Regions from separate parts of the Homo sapiens genome. Here regions 1 and 3 are each linked to region 2. Evidence: promoter capture Hi-C in 16 types of primary human blood cells and fetal thymus (Javierre and others, 2016). All regions are on one chromosome and are shown on one strand. The core of a region is centred on a gene start or on the middle of the fragment in contact, and the rest is flanking DNA. Distances in the headings are between cores, read along the strand shown. Region 1 has its middle 80 kb from the start of PLSCR4. Region 2 holds the start of PLSCR1 (phospholipid scramblase 1). Region 3 has its middle 92 kb from the start of PLSCR2.

Region 1 (2,846 bases), core at 300-2,799, 210 kb after region 2:
ATGTTTATTTCCAGTACTGTTTCATTATCCCAGCCTACATCTTTCTCCCATGCTGGATGCTTCCTGCCCTTGAACGTCAGACTCCAAGTTCTCCAGTTTTGAGACTCAGACTGGCTCTCCTTGCTCCCCAAGCTTGCAGGCAACCTATTGTAGGACCTTGTGATTGTGTAAGTTAATACTTAATAAACTCCCCTTTATAATAAATAAATATGTGTATATATATTTATATATCCTGTTAGTTCTGTTCCTCTAGGGAAACCTGACTAATACTAATACAGGTAACCAATCATTAAATTATTATACTAGCAACTGTTTTGCAATCCAGGCACAGAAAAATTTATCTTGGAGAAATTACTGAAACTGATTTTCTTGAAAGTTTCAAAAACATGTTTTCTCAGTTGTCTTAGCTAACAGTAACTATTATTTGTTCTGTTTTTGTTAAAATCTAGGAAAAACAGATTTAAAAGATATGTTAGAAACTCTTGCTTATGCAAGGATGGGCAGATGAGAAACACCAGAAAGAATCAATTAGAAAGACAAAATATTATTTATTTAGATTTGTGAAATTGTTGCTACTGGAATTAAATATTTAATTAATAATTAAATTGTATTTAATAATTATATTTATTTATTAATTTATGTATTTATTACTTATATTTATAATCATAATTACATAATTTATTATTTATTTATTTAATAATAAATATTATTCATTTAATTTGGTGAATTATTCTTTTTCCCCCCTCCCTGACATAAAACTAAATAATATAAGTCTACAAAATGGGACAGCAGTAGTTCATTGCTTTCTCTACTGAAATATACTATTTCCTTAGCCAAATTATGCTACTACTAATCTATAAATTTTAATGAATAGTACCAAAATATTTTAGAGTTAGAAGGAATATTGAGGACTACCTGCATTACATTCTAATCTACAAATGAGAAAACAGGCCAAGGTCATGTGTCCAACGTTATACTGAGCACAAATAGTTGAAACAGGACTGCAAATTACAGATTCCTTTTATCCCCCAGTATTCTTGCAATCACACAAAAAATTTAACAGACTTTTTTTTTTTTTTTTTTTTTGAGATGGATCTCGCTCTGTTGCCCAGGCTTGTGTGCGGGGGCACGATCTTGGCTCACTGCAACTTCCGCCTCCCAGGTTCAAGCAATTCTCCTGCCTCAGCCTCCCGAGTAGCTGGGACTACAGGTGCATGCTGCCACAGCCAGCTAATTTTTTGTACTTTAGTAGAGACGGGATTTCACCTTGTTGCCAAGGCTGGTTTCAAACTCCTGAGCTCAGGCAATCCGCCTGCCTTGGCGTCCCAAATTGTTAGTATTACAGGCGTGAGCCACTGAGCCCAGCCTTAATGTGCAATCTTTTATAACAATGGTTAATAGAAAATTTTTAGATATTTGTTTCAAATTTATCTACTGTTGTAAATTAATCGTAAGCAAATGCTAACATAGCACATCTCAACAATACCGACTGATCTCACGGCAATCTTCTACCTATGAAGGAAAAACTAAATTACTATGTTACAAAAACAAAAGCATTTAAAATACCTGTCATCTATGAGGTATTTCAATTTACTCATCCATTCATTTATTGATACAGTCATATTTTTCACAGCCACCATTCACATCTGAGTTTAATTTCATTTATTAAGATATATTTTTAGATTCTTTTGTGAAAGATACTTGTTGTTTGACAGATTCACTTGCATTGAAAAATTTAATTGTTGGTCATACAAAGAATATCAGATGATCATAGACAGACTCAAACAATTACCTTGATGAAGGGAAAGAACTATAGCTAATGGGCAGCCAAATACTACTTTGTCCAGATGTGACCTAGCCTGCCTGTTAGTCTGACAGATAACATGGAATAGACAATATGTCTGGAGATGTGGGAATACTTTATTCATAGTTCTGGCAGATTCACAGTCAGTTATAAAAATTATTCTGGGGACTACTACTATATTTCCTATATCCTTGAATTGTTTATTCTTAGTTTCCTATATATTATAACATTTCAATATTTCTGTTTGTTTTCTGTGTCTGTATAGCTCTCTCTGTTCTGTCCGGTTTTGTGTATTCCTGTCTACCTGTAATTTTTGCCACTTGTTTGAGATATGGCCATAGGACCTTCCTAGATATGGAAATCAGAGAAATGTGGTGCTGTTTTCTTAACTGACAGCAAGCTAATATTGTTGGCCTTTTGAGAGATCATTGTATACTATCACTGTTCTTTGCCTGTGAATGAAATCACTTGAGAGATAGGCAAAGGAGTAAAACTGACTTCATCATTAACCTGATAAAGCTGTTTAGAGGACAAGGCTTCATTCTCTAGCAATAATAAATTTGCAAAAGGGTGCTGAATCAGAATTACTCTCACTGTCTCAGGCAGAGCTGGAAAAAAACACAGCCCTTTATTCTAGAGTCCTACCACCATAAACCTCACTCCCTGAAAAACCTAGGAATTCGCGCTGTCTGTTAACAGGCTGTCTCTCCAAAGAGAAACACAGCTGAACTTCTCATACCCAGTTGCTTTGCTCAAACTCCCCAAGAACAATCATTTATCCCTGATCCCTGAGGCAAGTAAATGAGGGAACAGATAAAGATCAGAAGTCTTCTCTAATGCCAGTATCTCTACATGGAAATATCAGCAATGGAGAGTAATTTTGGTAGAGGTATTGCTTGTTCCCTTAAGTCTCTTCTTCTCCCATAATATCTCTAATTTCACTGATTCCACATGAAACCTGGAATACACAGAATATTTCTGACCCTTCTATGTAACTAGGTTTGGAGATATGGTAAAGTTCTGTCCCATTAGATGTTAATTG
Region 2 (2,700 bases), core at 86-2,585:
CTAGAAGAGGATCAATTGCTTGAGATCACAAATGATGGTGGCCTTAAAAGTATGTTTGAGACAGCTTCAAATCCCATGTTCTGGATTAAACTCAAGGTGGGATATCCTGAGATTGCCACAAAAGCACTGAAGAGTCTGCTTCCATTTCCAACATGCTATCTTTGTGAAGCAGGATTTTCTGCAGTGACAGCAACCAAAACAAGATTACGGAGTAGACTGGACATAAGCAACACACTTCTGGTGTCACTGTCTCCCACCGTTCCCAGATGGGACCTTCTAATTGCAGGAAAACAAGGTCAGGGCTCCCACTGATTCCACATTATGGTGAGTTGTATAATTATTTTATTATATATTACAATGTAATAATAATAGAAGTAAAGTGCGCAATACACGTAATGTGCTTGAATCATCCTGAAACCGTCTGCCACCCGGCCCTGGTCCATGGAAAAATCCTCTTCCGTGAAACTGGTCCCTGGTGCCAAAAAGGTTGGGGACCACTGGTTTATCCAGGGTCATCCAGGTTGGAGTGGGGTCAGGAGAAATGGGGAAATTTAGGTAAAAGTATACAAAGTTACAAACACGTAGGATGAACAAATGGGAAGACCTAATGTACAACATGAGGGCTATAGTTAATGATAGTGGTATTCAGGATTTATGCTAAATAAGTAGATTATAGCTGCTCTTGCCCCAAGGGGGGAAATGTGTAATTATAGGAGTTGATGGATATGTCATACAAATAACTTAAATACACAGAATAAAAACTATTTTAGTTTAAAAAGGAACAATATTTATAAAAAAATAAAGTGAGCTCGAAAACATTCAAATAACTGCTTAAAAATTAAAAAGTAATATCACATAATTTAATAGAAGGAAAGAAAGAGCAAGACAGCAAGAAAGAAAAGGCACCATAAAGAAAAACAATTTTGGCCCCTCCTCATTTGTAGTCTTAAGCTGCCTCTACTCCCTCGCCTTGAAAAGCCACGGGCTTCCGAGGGATGGAGGTCAAAGCCAGAGTAAAGAAAGTTCCCGGGGGAGGCCACTCCCCAGCTGATGACTTTCCAGTTCCAGTTAGTGTCGGAGTCCCAGTTCCTCTCCTTAACCACCGGACAAACGTCTCTGGAGTCTCTCCAATGAGCAAGAAAGCAAGTCGGGGGTAGGGGAGGGGCCTCACACCAGGGGGTGGGCGCAGTCCCTCCTCCAGCTCCTTCACCCTCCAGTAGTCTCGTGGGTCCCCGAGCGCCAGCGCGGGAACCGGGAAAAGGAAACCGTGTTGTGTACGTAAGATTCAGGAAACGAAACCAGGAGCCGCGGGTGTTGGCGCAAAGGTTACTCCCAGACCCTTTTCCGGCTGACTTCTGAGAAGGTTGCGCAGCAGCTGTGCCCGGCAGTCTAGAGGCGCAGAAGAGGAAGCCATCGCCTGGCCCCGGCTCTCTGGACCTTGTCTCGCTCGGGAGCGGAAACAGCGGCAGCCAGAGGTGCGCGGGCGGCTTTCTCTGCCGCCTCCTGGGGACTTGGGCGCGGGAACTGCGCGGAGCCTGCGCTGGGGCCAGGGCCGGGGTCAGGTGTGGAGGGCAACTTGTGGGGAACCGGCGCGAGGGCCCGCAGGTTGTGTTTGCTGCTCTGGGGGTGGAGGATGTGGGGTGAAGGTTGGGGCCAGAAATGCAAGAGGCCTCTGAAAGGGACCCTGGAAGTGGAGCAGGTACACGGCAAGGGGCCCCAGGCGGCCCAGCGGCACCCGGGCTCACCCCAGAACCATTCGAATGACAAGGGGTGCCCTGCCTGAAAACGCCTTGCGGGGCTCAGCTTCCCCTTAGCTACACTGCTTTACAGGTAGAGAGCGGCCCTGAATCCTGGGTAGAGTCTGGGCTCAGGAGCATGTGCCAGCGTAGTGGGGCTATTAGAAGGAATGGTTAATACAGCCTGCAAGCTGTCATTTATCAGTAAGTATTCAATGAAGTCCGCCGGAGCCCACATCTATGCTAGGCCCTCTACAATACCAGCTTAGGAAAGATAGTGGCGGTATCTAGCACGGTTCCTAAGACCATTAGCTCCAGTCAGGCTCCCCGACTTTAAATTCGGCCTCTACTGCTTCACGTCTGTGGACTGTCAGCCACTTTCTTCTTATATATGTTCTTTCCATTGCCTCATCTCTGAAATTGTGTAACTATTAAATGAGCTACAGAGTATTAATGTAAAATTCTTAGAGCAGTGCCTGGCGCTACAGAAAGTACTCAGTGAAAGTTAGCTCTTATTATTTTAAATATTTGACAAAGTTCCTGCTTCTCCAAGCTGATTCTCTGGTTCCCAGGTGGTTTCATTCATGCACTGTTATTCCTGGAAGTCTTGGCATGGCCACTTCCCAGTTCCAGGAACAGGCAGTCGTTGTTTTTTCTGGCTTATCACATTGAGATACATGGTTACTACAAGTGACACTTAAACGTGTCAGACAGTTTGGGGGCTCCCTTCTTGAACTTTTTCTAAGAGCAAACCTTTGTCTTAATGCCACCCTGTTTACAACAATAGTAGGGCTTTGAACAATGAGAAAATGCGGGGAAATGAAAAAGACATATAAAGGGAAAGAGTGGATTTATGCAATTGGATAGAAAAGTGGCATGTAAAATAGCTGGTTTATAGATCAAACTGCCTTTAGATCTGTAAAGGAGCTTAGAGTACATACAGGTGGAGAGACATCAGATGTGT
Region 3 (2,721 bases), core at 221-2,720, 170 kb after region 2:
TTAGTCCATTTTCACACTGCTGTAAAGAACTACCTGAGACTGAGTAATTTATTAAAAAAAAAAGAAGTTTAACTCACAGCTCCTCATGGCAGGGGAGGCCCCCCATGAGGGTGAAACAATCATGGCAGAAGGCAAAGGGGAAGCAAGGCACATATTACATAGCAGCAGGAGAGAGAGAGAGAATTAGGGGAAGTGCCACACTTTTAACCATCAGATCTCGTGAGAACTCACTCACTGTCATGAGAACAGTGTTAAGGAAAAAGCTCCTGTGATCCAGTCACCTCCCACCAGGTCCCTCCTTCAACACATGGGGATTCGGGATGAGATTTGGGTGGGAACACAGAGCCAAAGCCAAACCATATCAAGATGAAATGAAGAAAAATGGAACAAGCAATATGTCTTGGCCTGTTCTGCTGTCATCTACATGGCATTCTCTAGGTGACTACTCAATTCTAGTAAAATATATGCAGGAAATGGATTTGTCCATTCAAGAAACATTAAATCCAACTAAATTCCAAAGTATAGAAACCAGAGAGAATGATGTCAGGGAGCAGAGGGTCAATCAAGATGGAATCGTGTCCACAAAATATGAAAATACACATGCCATTGTTTAAGCCAGAACTACCTTTAGAAGTATTAAGAAATGAATCTAGATCAAGGGTAGTTGAGAAATAAATGGGAGATAACAGAAATATATAACAAGCTATGCTTTTAGGAAGCTCAGCAGGAAAAGGGGAAGTAAGAGACTAGATGGTGGCTACAGGGAGTAGAAAAAAGAGATGGCTTTATTTGATGGGAGAGCAAAGTCTACATTTTTGATATGGGCAAGAAAAAAACAAAAAAAAAAAAGAAAAAATAGTTGAAGACATAGGAGAGGAATACTATGTATGACCAACAGAGCAAGAGCCTGGAACCTAAGGATGGAATAAGAAGCAGGAGACATGAGGAGGGCACACCTACTCTTCTGCAATTAGAAGAAAAGTTAGTATAGACATACATGTTGATAACAGTTTGGGTAGGTCAAACAGGAGAGTAAGGAGGATTACTCCTGATGGCCTTTGATTTCATAACAAGGTAGCAGCTAGATTCGCTTCTATGTCATACTTACTATTCACTTATTCATTCAACCAGTTGATTCAGTATCCACAATGCATTAGTTAACGAAGGAGGCACAGTTTCTGCCTGTACTAATTTTGCAGTCTAACAGTCTAGTGGGATTTGAAGATGCATAAATGTGTAGTAACAATACAGTGTAATGAGTGGATTTACAAGAGAGGTAGAGATTAATGGCACTCATAAAAATGTTTACCAATGAAGATGGGCTATCTCATATGACTCTGTTGCAGAAAAACTATAATTTTAATTATATTCTACTATTTTGCTTGCATATTCTTGGACATTTTCTCCACAAAATTTTGAAGATCATATTGGCCAATTTTGGTGAATTCATAGTGTAGTATTATGTAAGAATAAAAACCATGACATAGATCTATTTTAATCTAATCAAAATAACATTTGGTGCTTATTAAAGCGAAAACAACAAAAAAAATTGCCTCATAGTATGTGTGTCCTAATGTTTAAAAGGAAATTATAAACCAAGGAATCAGAAAGGAGCAATTGATTGTGTAAAATATTGTATCAATGTTAATGTCCTGTTATGTTAATTGTGGTAATATTAAGGGAATGTTCCTTATGGAGATAATGCACACTGAAGTATTTAGGAGTACAGCAATACCATGTTTGCAATTTAAAATTATTATTTCATATGTATATATGTATATATTAAAGGGAGTAATAAAGCAAATGTGAAAAAATAGGGGAATATAGGTGACAATTGTGTGAAAATTTTTTGTACTATTCTTGCAACTTTTCTGAAAATATATAATTATTTCTAAATTTACAAAAATTACCAGGCAGTGGGAGGCAATTGGATAGTTTAGCATAGGTTTACATAATAAAGTAGTTGACCGCCTGAAGGTCATAGGAAAAGAAAACAAAACACGTCGCATGCTTTTTCTTTTCTTGTAGTATAATAAATTCTAAAATTATGCTAACATTCAAGATAAATTAAACTTTCAGTGGCAAAGTGCCAGTTTTGTCATTTGTATGTTCAAGTAACCAAGATAATCTGAATGGAGAAGAAACAGCTGCCACCTGGATTCCACACCTCCTTGAGTACCCACCTTTATTTGTCTATTCTCAGAACCCCAAATTTCTCCTTTCTTTTTCCTTGCTGCAGAAAAATGTTAAACAATAACTATAAGTCTCACCATGTGCCCTAATTCTGAGGATTTCCTAAGCATATGGAAAACTTAGAAACTGAGAGACTAAAGATAAACTAAAGATAGACTAAACTAAAGGTAGATATATTTGTATAGCTATCTTTCTATAGCTATCTATCTACTTATGCTATTCGTTTTGTTTCTCTGGAGAACCCAAAGTAATACACATTATGAATGAAAAAAAAATTGATGGGATAGGGATACTAAGAAAAACATTTAACATTCTAAATTTAATAAACAGAAAATGGACAGAGATTCTTTCTTTGTAACAATTCAGATAGCAATAAACTCACATGTAACACATGGTAATTCTAAAAAAAAATTTAAAAATAGAATCAAATTCTACATCTTCACTGGAAATAATCAAACATCTTAAAATATTCTATTATTTTTACTCTTTATTTCTATAACCTACAGACAATTTCTAAAATGCAAAATA

The links. The method cuts DNA at HindIII sites, captures the fragments that hold promoters and counts their contacts. A CHiCAGO score of 5 or more calls a contact.
Region 1: a fragment that was not itself captured here is called in contact with the fragment with the promoter of PLSCR1 in region 2 in 1 of 17 cell types (endothelial precursors); the score reaches 5.6 in endothelial precursors.
Region 3: a fragment that was not itself captured here is called in contact with the fragment with the promoter of PLSCR1 in region 2 in 2 of 17 cell types (total B cells and total CD8 T cells); the score reaches 5.1 in total B cells.

The regions. Positions count from the first base shown.
Region 1 is chr3:146,329,972-146,332,817 of GRCh38, reverse strand. No RefSeq gene overlaps it. Among named protein-coding and RNA genes, the nearest start is that of PLSCR4, 80 kb to the right of the region's middle. The HindIII fragment of the contact is 2,829 bases long and covers 135-2,846 here.
Region 2 is chr3:146,543,242-146,545,941 of GRCh38, reverse strand. It overlaps PLSCR1 (phospholipid scramblase 1), which reads left to right and starts at 1,335. Exons shown (of 9, transcript NM_021105.3): 1 at 1,335-1,475. RefSeq lists an enhancer at 1,006-1,485. The HindIII fragment of the contact is 8,607 bases long and covers 1-2,700 here.
Region 3 is chr3:146,376,334-146,379,054 of GRCh38, reverse strand. No RefSeq gene overlaps it. Among named protein-coding and RNA genes, the nearest start is that of PLSCR2, 92 kb to the left of the region's middle. The HindIII fragment of the contact is 3,693 bases long and covers 1-2,721 here.